2 separate regions of the Homo sapiens genome follow, and region 1 is linked to region 2. The links are contacts of gene promoters, found by promoter capture Hi-C in blood cells and fetal thymus (Javierre and others, 2016). All regions are on one chromosome and are shown on one strand. The core of a region is centred on a gene start or on the middle of the fragment in contact, and the rest is flanking DNA. Distances in the headings are between cores, read along the strand shown.

The links. The method cuts DNA at HindIII sites, captures the fragments that hold promoters and counts their contacts. A CHiCAGO score of 5 or more calls a contact.
Region 1: the fragment with the promoter of RPP38 here is called in contact with a fragment that was not itself captured in region 2 in 1 of 17 cell types (neutrophils); the score reaches 5.1 in neutrophils.

The regions. Positions count from the first base shown.
Region 1 is chr10:15,093,486-15,100,117 of GRCh38, forward strand. RPP38 (ribonuclease P/MRP subunit p38) reads left to right here and starts at 3,870. Exons shown (of 3, transcript NM_183005.5): 1 at 3,870-4,281. RPP38-DT (RPP38 divergent transcript) reads right to left here and starts at 3,834. Exons shown (of 2, transcript NR_160789.1): 1 at 3,602-3,834; 2 at 1,900-3,380. It also overlaps the pseudogene GAPDHP45. RefSeq lists enhancers at 3,415-3,986, 4,288-4,377, 4,438-4,577 and a silencer at 3,788-4,147. The HindIII fragment of the contact is 10,027 bases long and covers 536-6,632 here.
Region 2 is chr10:14,619,469-14,625,798 of GRCh38, forward strand. All of the region lies in intron 2 of FAM107B (family with sequence similarity 107 member B), which reads right to left. Among named protein-coding and RNA genes, the nearest start is that of FAM107B, 150 kb to the right of the region's middle. The HindIII fragment of the contact is 2,543 bases long and covers 20-2,562 here.

The DNA of each region.
Region 1 (6,632 bases), core at 2,620-5,119, 480 kb after region 2:
GATGTCATCCTATTTGGCAGGTTTTTCCAGATGGCAGTTCAGGCCCACAACTGACACGTTGGCAGTGGGGACACAAAAGGCCATGCCAGGGAGGTTCCCATTCAGCTCAGGGATGACCTTGCCCACAGGGCTTCCCTATCTTGTGGGAGAGTCTCACAAGGCTGTTTCTCATCCATGTCCCTAGTTTAGTTGAGACTAGGGCTTTCCATCTTCCCCTTCTTTCTCCGCACCCCCTACAACCTGCTCCACTTTAGGATGGAGCCGCAGGCTTCTGTGTAAATCTGTAGAACTGCTTGCTGAAGTTTAGTTTGTTCCTCGACAGAGTGACCCACCACTCATAAGACCTGTCATCTGACCTCTGAGATTGGGAATGCTGTCCCATGGGATTAGAGATGCAGGGAGCTGACATCATGTTGGTCTTGATTTTGCTGTTTTGTGAGACCTGCGAATTGCTCAACTGCTTGAAACTCCTCACCTTCACTTGTCTCTATGGACACAGATATTCTTTGGAGTACTATACCGTTCCAATTAGTAAAGCTTTCAGTATTCATTTTGCATCTCATCATTAAAGTTTATTCTTAGTAACTGATTTAAAATAATGAATTGTTTACATAACAACTACTGTTACATAACACACACACACACACACACACACACACACACACAAACACACACACACAGCTAAGGTCAGAATACCATGGAGGAAAAGAAGAATCTGGTGGTCAATTCCCTTACATTCTTCTATTGACAAATTTTCTTGTTGGGACCTTCACTTATTTCATCAAAGGATTGTGGCTAATGATCTAATTTATTACTCAGAATCTTTTTATTTATTTGTTTTGGAGACAGGGTCTCACTCTGTTGCCCAGGCTAGAGTGCAGTGGTGTGATCATAGCTCACTGTAGCCTCCACCTTCTATGCTCAAGCAATCCTCCTGCCTCAGCCTCAGGAGTGGCTGGGACTACAGGCACACACCACCATGCCCAGCTAATTTTTTTTTTTTTTTTTTCTGTAGAGACGGGGTTTCGTCATGTTGCCTAGGCTGGTCTTGAACTCCCGGGCTCAAGCAATCCTCCTGCCTCAGCCTCCCAAAGTGCTGGGATTACAGGTGTGAGCCACCACAGCCGGCCATCACTCAGAATCTTAAGTCATTGTCAAATAATGGAAAGCATACAAATCAAACAGTAGTCCAATTCTAGAATTAATATAAAAAGAAAGCTCTAATATACAAAGACCAAACAGATTTTACAGGATAAAACAACTGTCATTAAAAAGTAAAACTGGCAGGTGTGGTGGTGCACATCTGTAATCCCAGCACTCTGGGAGGCCAAGGTAGGAGCATTACTTGAGCCCAGGAGTTTGAGACCAGCCTGAGCAACATGGCAAGACCCCGTCTCTACAAAAAGTACAAAAATTAGCCAGGCATGGTGGCATGCTCCTGTAGTCCCAGCTACTCAGGAGGCTGAGGTGGGAGGATCACTTGAGCTTGGGAGGAGGTTGCAGTGAGCTGAGATGGTGCCACTGCACTTTAGCCTGGGCAACAGAGCAAGACCCTGTCTCCAAAAAAAAAAAACCGTTTCTTCAGAATAGGATATCAAATATGTAAAGTAATAATTTGAGAAACATGAAAAAGCGTTATGTGTAAAGAAAATCAGAAGACTTAATCTGTATTAGTTTAATGTAAAAGCATGCACATATGTGAAACAAAGTAGAAGGGAACACTAAAGAAAAAAATGGGTGTGATTGGGTCATGGGAGAATGTTTTTTACTTTTTGGTTGTAATGTTTGTGTGATACAAGAGGGACAGAAATTACTTTCGAAATGTACTTGTTAATTTTAGCAAAATCCTCGTGGAAATTATACTGCTAGTTTTAAAATAAAACACAAGCACTAAAATAATAAAGGTTATGTTTCATTTTTATTAACTTAGTTTTGCCACGGTTGAGACTGGATTTGCCATAGTTCAATTTATCAAGCACTTAACTATGTGTTCCGCACATAATAATCATCTTAGCATAGAGGAACATGTCTTCTAATCCGCACAAGAGATACTATTTTTATCACGTCATAGAGGAGGTTAATAAACTTGCCTAGGTCATAAGATCTTCAGTTGATGAAGTTAGGATTTCAACCCAGAGCCAAGTAATGTAATGGCTGATGTTTTCCACAGAGAAAATGTAAGCCGAGATGATGCTCAAACTATAAATCTGGAACCTTAGGGGGACAAAAACGTATGGATGTCTCCTTCCCATTACTTTAGCATTTTAATTAGATTCCTGTGTCTCTATTTGTCTTTGGAAATGCAAGCTGCTTGCAGTTCATCATAGCTAACTCACACAATTCATTTTATGAAACACAAACCTGTTCTCACAAACTCACTGTCATCTCTTTTTAATCTTTCTAATTGTGATAAAAATCATACTGCACTTTACCCTGTGTAACCTCCAATGATCTTTGACCAAAAGCCAAATCTTTTTTTTGTTGTGTTTACTTATGGACAGTTAGGTTCTACATAGGTACTTAAACATGAAAATTGAAATCATAGAGGCTGGGCACAGTAGCTCATGCCTGTAATCCCAGCACTTTGGAAGGCCGAGGTGGGCGGATCACCTGAGGTCAGGAGTTCGAGACCAGCCTGACTAACATGGTGAAACACCGTCTGTACTAAAAATACAAAAATTAGCTGGGCTGGTGGCCCGTGCCTGTAACCCCAGCTACTCCGGAGGCTGAGGCAGGAGAATCACCTGAACCTGTGAGGCGCTGGCTGGAGTGAGCCAGGTTCGCGCCATTGCACTCCAGCCTGGGCAACAAGGGCAAAACTCTGTCTCAACAACAATAATAATAATAAATAAAAGAAAGAAATCACAGAAACTATACCAGAAAATAGGATACAAAACCAACAGTGAGGAGATTGAGAAAAGGAGGCAGATACGTAAAGAGGAAAAGGAAGGGGGCCCAAGTAAGGCCGGAAAAAGCGGGGAGAAGGAGGAGGCTCATTAGGTCAGAAGCAACCTGCCGTCTTCTAAGTTCTGGCCAAGGGTAGATCAACAGATCCAGATTCCTGAGCTTTAAAATGTTATTCGGCCGCTTCATCACTTGTCCCCGACTTTGCAGCGACTCCGATGGTAGCCTGAGTCTCCATTGCTTGGAGCAGCCACAGTGGACACTGGACGGGATATTCTGTGCAGCTGTTGCTGAACTCAAGGCAACTCTTACTGCCTTTCTCTTTTCGGGCTCAAGATTCCCTGCATTATTGCCCATAGGCATGTGTTTTACCCCATACTCCTTCTCCCTTTTATCTTGATTTTCGCGGTGCTGGGGAGTCTGCAGGGATTCCATGGCGACGGGCTCACTGGGACAGGGGCTGGGGTTGTGCGTCCCTGAGGCAAGGCAAATACAGAAAAGCGAATAGAGACAGAGGGCTAAGATTCCAAAGCACTGAAAGGTAGAAACTGGGTTAGAAGAGAGAGGGGAGCACAAACGCCCGGAGAGAGCGAGCCCTCGGGATACCATTGGCTATAGGCTGGCCTCCGAACAACTGGACGGTCCAAGTCCTGAGCGTCTGGTTACCCGGGCAACCGCATGGTCTCGCGATACATACCTCGCGCCTGCGCACTGCCCCTGTAGCGGGGGTGGGGGGACCCGGTCCGGAGACTCCACCCCGGGGCCTAAACTCGAGTCTAAAAGATTGGGCCTCGTTGTGTCGTTTCCGGGTCGCGCGACGCTGTGGGCCGCTTTCCCCTCTCCGGAGTGACCTAACACAGGATAACGAAACCTGCACTGCTCCGAGCGCTTCCTCCCCGGCCCGTCGCGTCTGCGAGGCGAGGCCGGGAGGCGAGGGCTCTGCGCACGCGCGGCGCAGGCGCACTGGGCGCCGGTGCTGTTGCCTTCAGGTGACCACGGATTCGCCATCGTGAGTTCCAGGTGGGCGCGCGGGGCCCACGTAGGGCAGGAGGCCAGCCCCGGGGGGATCGGGCCCGGGACTCTGCGGAATCTGGAGGCCGAAGCCCGCGCGCACGCAGGGTCTCTGCTGCTTCCCCAACGCCTGTTGCGTGGCCGCAGGACCCGCCGCCCTCCCGGTTGGGCCGCCCAGTCCCGGGCCGGGCGCGTGCACCCAGAGCTTCCGCGTTTCTAGTCCGGCTCCTCTGCTGGATTGCAGCGCCGGCTGGGCACCAGGAGTACAAAGCGAAAACCCCCGCCGGCCCTTCTGTTCTCCACGGTCTCCAAGGAGACACGGACAACAGAACAACACTTCCGTGTGCTAAATAGTAAAGCACCAAGGTACTCGATCCAGGGGCGGCGTGCAGTGGGGAGGTGAGCTTTGGGTCGGCCGTCGCCCCTCGGCTACCGGCGGGATCCAGAAACCGGGAGTCACCACCAATACCGTTCTCAACTTTACTTCCAGCTGGTCACTACTGTGTCGGGAGATTCTACCTTCTTTTCCGACTAACATGTATTTTTCTCCAGTCCTTTCTGCGGCGTCTCTAGTGCAGGCCACCGTCATTTCTAACCTGGACGACTCCAGGAGCGTCTTTGCTGCTCGGGGACTCTTCCTTTGCCCAGATCCACAAAGATCTATAACGTCTTTCTAATCACGACACCTCTGCTTTAGATGTTAAAGTTGCTTCACACTGGAACGCTTGCAAAGGTCTTCATTATCTGGTCCTTACCCACCTTTCCTAGTTTCTCACCGCTTTCTCTAGCATCTCTGCCCCAGCCACATTGAACTTATTTGAACGTGTTTTTTTTTTTTTTTTTTTTTTTGAGACATAGCAGTCGCCCAGGCTGGAGTGCAGTGGCGCGATTCCGGCTCACTGCAACCTCCGCCTGCCGGGTTCAAGCGATTCTCCTGCCTCAGCCTCCCGAGTAGCTGGGACTACAGGCGCCTGCCACCACGCCCGGCTAATTTTCGTATTTTTAGTAGAGACGGGTCACCACGTTGGTCAGGCTAGTCTCGATCTACTGACCTCAAGTGATCCGCCCGCCTGGGCTTCCCAAAGTGCTGGGATTACAGGCGTGAGCCACCTCGCCAGCCAACTTATTTCTTTTAATACTGAGATACCTTTCTTTACTCCATACTTCCTTTGGTAGGCATTGTTTAGATGTAGGTTAAGAGGTCCGGCCCGGCGCGGTGGCTCACGCCTGTAGTCCCAGCACTTTGGGAGGCCGAGGCGGGCGGATCACAAAGTCAGGAGATCGAGACCATCCTGGCCAACATGGTGAAACCCCGTCTCTACTAAAAATACAAGAATTAGCCGGGCGTGATGGCCCGTGCCTGTAGTCCCAGCTACTCGGGAGTCTGAGGCAGGAGAATCGCTTGAACCCTGGAGGCGGAGGATGCAGTGAGCCGAGATTGTGCCACTGCACTTCAGCCTGGCGACAGAATGAGACTCCGTCTCAAAAAAAAAAAAAAAAAAAAAAGTTCCTCTGTGAGGACTGCCTTTTCCCACCCCCCTCAACTAAGCTAGGCCTCTGCTGGATGTTCCCTAAGCATACTGTTCCCTGACCTTCATGTGCATCAGGCTTTATTGTATAATTACTTGCTAATATTTTTTCCTCGTGGACTCTAAGCTCATGAGGTCTGTGAGAAAAAATACTTAATCTTTATGGCCTGGCACATCGTGGATAATCGATAAATATTTGTTGAAGAAAGGAAGGGGCCTGCGGCTGAGGGTGGGAGTGGTATTCCAGGCAGAGGGACTAATGTGTATAAAGACTTGCAGGTGGGAAAATGCTGGCCTCATTAAATAGTATGTTGTTCGGTGTTGAGGACTTGTGCTTGGTGGGGCCTAAGGAGAAAGAGGGCCTAAGTGGGAGATTGAGCTGGAGTGTGGAGGGCCTTTTATGTCACATTAGAGTTTAGGCGGGGCATGGTAGCTCATGCCCTCAATCCCAGTACTTTTGGGGAGGCCGAGGCTACGGGATTGCCTGAGCCTAGGAGTTGAAGACCAGCCCAGGCAACAAAGCAAGACCTTGTCTCTATAGAATTTCTTTTTTTTTTTTTTTTAAGACGGAGTCTTACTCCATTGCCCAGGCTGGAGCACAGTGGTGCAATTACGGCTCATTGCAGCCTCCGCCTTCTGGGTTCAAGCAATTCCCCTACCTCAGCCACCCACCTAAGTAGCTGGGATTACAGGTGTGCACCAGCACTCCTGGCTAATTTTTGTATTTTTAGTAGAGACTGGGTTTCACCATATTTGCCAGGCTGGTCTCGAACTCCTGACCTCAAGTGATCTGTCCAGCTTGTCCTCCCAAAGTGCTGGGATTACAGGTGTGAGCCACCGTGCCCAGCCTATACAGAAAATTTAAAAATTAAAAAAATTTTCTGGGCTTGGTGGTATGCGCCTATAATCCCAGCTATTCAGCATGAGGCTGAGGTGGGAGGATTGCTTGAACCCAGAAGTTCAAGGCTGCAGTGAGCCATGATCGAACGACTGCACTACTGCCAGGTGACAGGGCAAGACTGTCTAGTAAAAAGAGTTTGCCCTTGATCTACAGGCAGCAGAGGCCTCTTGAGACAGCTCTAAAGGGCCCTCAGCAAAGCCTATTTTTCTCTCTTTCTCTAAAGCTATAAAATCTTATCAGTCAGTACTTTGTTTCTGGATTATATTGCGTGAGATTATGCTTATCCA
Region 2 (6,330 bases), core at 41-2,540:
CATATATCTTCCTTAGCGAAGCTTCTGTTCCAGTCTTTTATCCAGTTTTTATTGGTTGTGTGTATTTTCTTAATAAGTTGTAAGAGTTCTTTTACAGGCATGTGTTTTCTAAATATTTCCTCCCCATCTATGACTTCTCTTTTTATTTCCTTAACAATGTATTTTGAAGAAGAAAAAACTTTAAATTTGAAGGCTTATTTATCCATGCCTTCTTTTACGATTTGTGTTTGTGTCCTAGCTAAAAAAAAAAAAAAAAAAAAAAACCTTTGCCCAAGCTAAGCACACAATTACATTCTCTTATGTTTTCTTTTAGAAGTTTTATAGTTTTTGCTCTTACATTTAGGTCTATGACGTATTTCAAATTAATATTTTCATATGGTGCTAGGCAATGGTGTAAAGGTTGAATTTCTTTTTTTTTCATTAGTATACAGATGTTCCATTGTTTGCTTTTTGAAAGGACTATGTCTTATACATTGATGAACTTGGTAGCTTTGTTGCAAATCAGTTGACCGTGTAAGTGTCTATCTACGTCTGGACTTTCTTTCTTTCTTTTTTTTTTTTTTTTTTTTTGAGATGGAGTCTCGCTCTGTCGCCAGGCTGGAGTGCAGTGGCACAATCTCGGCTCACTGAAACCTCCGCTCCCAGGTTCAAGCCATTCTCCTGCCTCAGCCTCCTGGGTAGCTGGGACTACAGGCGCGTGCCACCATGCCCAGCTAATTTTTGTATTTTTAGTAGAGACGGGGTTTCACCATGTTGGCCAGGATGGTCTCGATGTCTCGACCTCGTGATCCGCCCACCTTGGCCTCCCAAAGTGCTGGGATTACAGGCATGAGCCACCGCGCTTGGCCTATTTCTGGATTTTCTATCCTGTTCCATGTCTCTGTATATCTAACCTTTCATCAACACCACCCTTTCTTATTTGTATTACTTTACAGTAACTCTAAAATTCAGGTTTTGTGAGTCATCTAACTTTGTTGTTCTCCAAAATTATTTTGGTTGTACTAGGCCCTTTGCTTTCATATACATTTTAGAATAACGCTGATTTTTTTCAAAATGCTTACTGTATTTTTTTTATTATTATAATTTAAGTTCTGGGATACATGTGCAGAACATGCAGGTTTCTTACATAGGTATACACGTGCCATATTGGTTTGCTGCACCCATCAACCCGTCAACTACATTAGGTATTTCTCCTAATGCTATCCCTCTCCCAGCCCGCCATCCCCCCACAGGCCCTGGTGTGTGATGTTCCCCTCCCTGTGTCCATGTGTTCTTATTGTTCAACTCCCACTTATGAGTGAGAACATGCCGCATTTAACTGATGTCTTAATATATAGTCTTCTGACACATGAACATAGTATATCTCTCCATTTATTTAGGTCTTGTTCGATTTCCTTATCAATGTTTTGTACTTTCCAGCATACAAACCTTACATACATTTTGTTAAAGTAATCCCTAAGTATTTCTTGGTTTTGATGTTATTGTAAATTATACATTTTTAGAATTTCAATTTCCAATTATTTATTGCTTGTATTTAAAAATACAGTTGATTCCCACAGATTGACCTTGTATCTTATGAACTTGACAAACTCACATATTATATTTCTTAGTCATTTTTTAAATAGTTCTTTGGGATTTTTAATGTAGATAATCATGACTTTTGCAATAAAGACCATTTTATTTCTTAGGTTCTCTGTTTTTTTAAATTTGGCATTCTTTTCAGGGAATTTCAGGGAAGAGGCATGTCCACAGCCAGTGAGGAGAGTGAGATTTGGTTTCACATTTCGATGTTTTGAAAGCAACATTAAACTGCTGTTTATATTATGTAGACTCCTTTCTTACTTTTTCTGTTTAACAGAAAAATTCTGTGGCCCTGTTATTTGTGTTCTGTGACTGACTCCTACTGCAGACTCTTTGATTCTAGATCTTAAGTGTTCAAACTATAATATTCCCTTTGGATGAAATATTTCCTCCTGTGGTCCACTTTTTAAAACGTATATGAAATGGGACATTTTGTGGCTAGACATAAGCCAACGCCACAGGGCAAGGAAAAATTAAAACAAGACATTTGATTAAAGAGTGAAGACAAGGAATTAAAGAATATAAAAAGGAAACTAATTTTTACCTTAGTCAGGCTGCAATTCTATTAAAAGAAACAGGATACATGGCCCTGAGAACTCCCCTAGGTTCCCAGACTAGAAGCATCTGTTGATTTGAAGCTGGGGAAGAGAGGAAGGAGCATAAACAAGATTTGAAACAGGATTTGGCTTTTTTTGAGGCCTTCCCAGCCGATGTGGGGTGGCACCAGCCCCATTCCACAGCTCGCTTGTTAGCTGCTGAAAGCGGAGTATAACGCTTGGAGAGCAAAAAGAAAGGGAAGGAAAAATTCTTCAGAGTAAAAAAAAATGTACAGAAGTACCTTGCAGTTAAGAGAGGGTCTGCCAAGTCAATGAACACTAACAATAAAATATGTTCAAGTTGCTCTGTGATTCCAGGTCTTTTCTCTTCCAACTAATCAGATGCATCTTAAATACCCCAAAACATGACCGCTTATACCAACAAAGCTTTTCCACAGTCTCTCCATGGAGTAACATTCCTGGCTTTTCATCTTGGCTTCTCCATCAACACATTTAATAAAGTCCATCTTTCAATATTCATTCAATAAACATCCATGCATCCAACGGGGGCCAGGCAATATGTCAGGACCTAAGAATATGGAGATGAAAAATGAGGTCACTGCCCTCAGCAGACTTACAGCCTAGCAGAGGAGACAGACATTGGAGCAAACATAATACAATAAATGCTGTGATGGACAAGCACCTGGGAGCTAGTATGAGAGATTTTTTTTTTTTTTTTTGAGATGGAGTCTCGCTGTATTGCCCAGGCTGGGGTGCAGTGGTGTGATCTCGGCTCACTGCAACCTCTGCCTCCCTGGTTCAGAGATTCTCCTGCCTCAACCTCCCGAGTAGCTGGGACTACAGGTGCATGCCACCATGCCTGGCTAATTTTTGTATTTTTAGTAGAGACGGGGTTTCACTATGTTGGCCAGGCTGGTCTGGAACTCCTGACCTCGTGATCCACCCGCCTTGGCCTCCCAAAGTGCTGGGATTACAGGCATGAGATTCTTAAACCAGGCCAGAGAGAGAAAGTCAGAAAGCTTCCTGGAAGAGAAGGCATCTAAGCAGCACATTAAAGCTTCCGTACACTAGACACACTCTTATTGGCTATTTTGGTTCAAGTACATGGTCAGTTAATCAGAACAGGAAATTACAGAAACATAATGTATGCCCTAAACACTTAATTTAACATAAACATATGTTGAGCATTTGTGTCCCAGTTTATTTGACTGCAGGCTCACAGTTTTCCTTTAAACATAAATCTTCTGATTGGAGTTCCCTGTAGAAATCACAGGGATTTCTTTCCTGTAGAAATCACCACACTCCTAATGCATTCATTAACTACACAATTTCTAGTTTGCCTCTTCAAAGGGGAACAGGAATGTGGAGAGAATTGCAAAGCAACCTGAGTAAAGCATCCTTCTTGACTGATACTAGTTTATCCATCTGATACAATTCTCTTACCCACACCTAATTTGACAGCATTTTGTTTTAAGCTGCTCATGTTCATTCTTGTCAAAGCAATTGACTTGATTTTGATTATCACAACCCTCTTTCTTTTGGTGTTCATCTTTTGTTGATTTAATATTTAATTATACAACAGTATTAAAATAACAACTAGCACAACAACGCAATAAAGCAATAAGGCAAACGCACCTTATTCTTCTTAAGCAAACAACTCAATCAGTAGACACAGAAGTAGGTGGAGGACAGCTTATCACCTGCAAAAGTCCAGCAGGCCACAAGACTCACCCTGTGCATCTTTCATCAGGAATTTAGGTGACAGTTAATCCCAACTGTGGCTAAATAAAGATCTGGTAAAACATCTACTGCAGAAAAGGTACAGACATTCAAAGGAGAGTGACCAACACAGAGAGCTGAGATGGGCACAAAGGAAGCACACATATTCAGAGGAGGAGTCGGGAGAGCTCAGGCGTCAAGCTAACTAGCTCAAAACTGGGTCAGCGTGGTGGCTTACGCCCGTAATCCCAGCATTTTGGGAGGCCAAGGTGGGCAGATCACATGAGGCCAGGGGTTTGAGACCAGCCTGGCCAACATGGTGAAACCCCATCTCTACTAAAAATATAAAAATTAGCTGGGCGTGGTAGTGCAGGTCTGTAATCCCAGCTACTCAGGAGGCTGAGGCATGAGAATTGCTTGAACCTGGGAGGAGGAGGCCGCAGTGAGCTGAGATCGCCCACTGCACTCCAGCCTGGGGGACAGACGGGGACTCTGTCTTAAATAGATAAGTAAATCGCTCACACTTGGGCTATGTATCTTAAAGGCATATGAAACAACTCATTTTCCTTAATTTTTCTGTCGCTCAATGAGAATGTCAAACTCATCTTTCTCAACGTCAACACTGAACACTGGTGAAGACACCACTATTTTAATGAACATGCCAACATTTGTTACAAAGCCTTCTCCTGAAGAATGGAGCATCACAATATATCAGTTGTGTCATCAGCAACCACCGTACTGACCCCTAAAGGGCTCCTAGCAAACATAAAACAATGGAGAGGCAGGTGAGGGAAGCTGGTGCCCAATTCACAAAACCCACAGAGGATCATTAAAAAACCACTAGAGGCTTTGAAAGAGATCTATTAACTATACAAACAATGGAGTGGCTATAAGGATGGTGAATAAAACCATGAAAGCCATCAGAAGACGTGAGAAGTGTGGAAGCTGTTCCAAGGCTGGTGGGAAAAGCTGGAGAAGAAATGGCCAAGCCAGTTTCCACTGGGTCACGGCTTTGTCTATCCTGCCCCATCTCAAAATCAAAAGAACTTGAGGGAGTCTCAGCACTTCTGGGAGGCTGAGGAGGGTGGATCATTTGAGGTCAGGAATTGGACACCAGCTGGCCAAAACGGTGAAACCCCATCTCTGCTAAAAATACAAAAATACGCCAGGTGTGGTGGTGTGCGCCTGTAATCCTAGCTACTCGGGAGGCTGAGGCAGGAGAATTGCTTGAACCCAGGAGTTTGAGGTTGCAATATACAGAGATCCTGCCGGTGCACACCAGCCTGGATGACAGAGCAAGACTCCGTTTCAAAAAAAAAAGACTTGAGGGTCAACTCCCAAAGAACTTGAACGTCCCTGAGTCCGTTTTCGTATTTGAGCATAACAAGCTGCACTCATGACAAATGTCATAAAATAACTAAAGCAGCTGGCAAACGCAAGAAAAGAAAAACAGAGTGGGTGGAGCTGTTAAATCAATAATACAGAGGTCTGAGAAGCAGAAGCACATACATAAGGAAGTTCCTTTCTCCAGATCAGTAGATATTCAAGGGTAAGAACTCTGGTAATCCACTGATCTAGGTGGATGACAATAGTTTTGTTGATCAGAATGTCATGTGTGGCCGGGCGTGGTGGCTCACGCCTGTAATCCTGGCATTTTGGGAGGCCTAGGCAGGTGGATCACTTGAGGTCAGGAGTTTGAGACCAGCCTGGCCAACATGGTGAAATCCCGTCTCTACTAAAAATACAAAAATTAACCAGGCATGGTGGCATGCACCTGTAATTCCAGCTACTTGGGAGGCTGAGGCAGGAGAATTGCTTAAACTCGGGGAAACAGAGGTTGCAGTGAGCCAAGTTGGCACCACTGCAGTCCAGCCTGGGTGACAGAGTAAGACTGTCTCAGAAAAAAAAAAAAAAAAGGAATGTCGTGTGCGTGCGTGTGTGTGTGTGTGTGTGTATGTGTGTGTATCCCTCCCAGCCCTGGGAATTTTTCAACCTGCCATGAAATCTCTGCTTTGTCTCAGAGTCATCCTTCGTTTCATCTTCTTTGACTCTCTGATGACGCCTCATCTAGTCCCAAACACCTCTCCAGAACAATGAGCAGAGCCTGCCCCCTGCTCTGAGATGAAGCCTTTGTAACTGCTCCAGCCAGGGCCTGACAGCCATGAGTACAACTGTCCTGGCTGCTCTGCAGGGAGCTCATAAGAACAGGGAAACAGGAGGGCCCAGCTCTGCCTGGCAGCTGTGACATGGTGTGCCAAAATAGGCATTAATGTCGCGTGCAAGAGAAACAGGCAGAAGAGACAGAAGGATTTATCTCTTGTTAGAACTGAGCTGCGTTTTACAATCCAAATCAAATTTCTTGGTCATTTTTATGGTGAAATTCTCGTGGTTTCAGAGTCCAGTGCTATTGCTTAGAAGGAAAAAAAAAGTGGCACAGAAGAATAACTGAATTAAATAAATATTCAAGAGTACT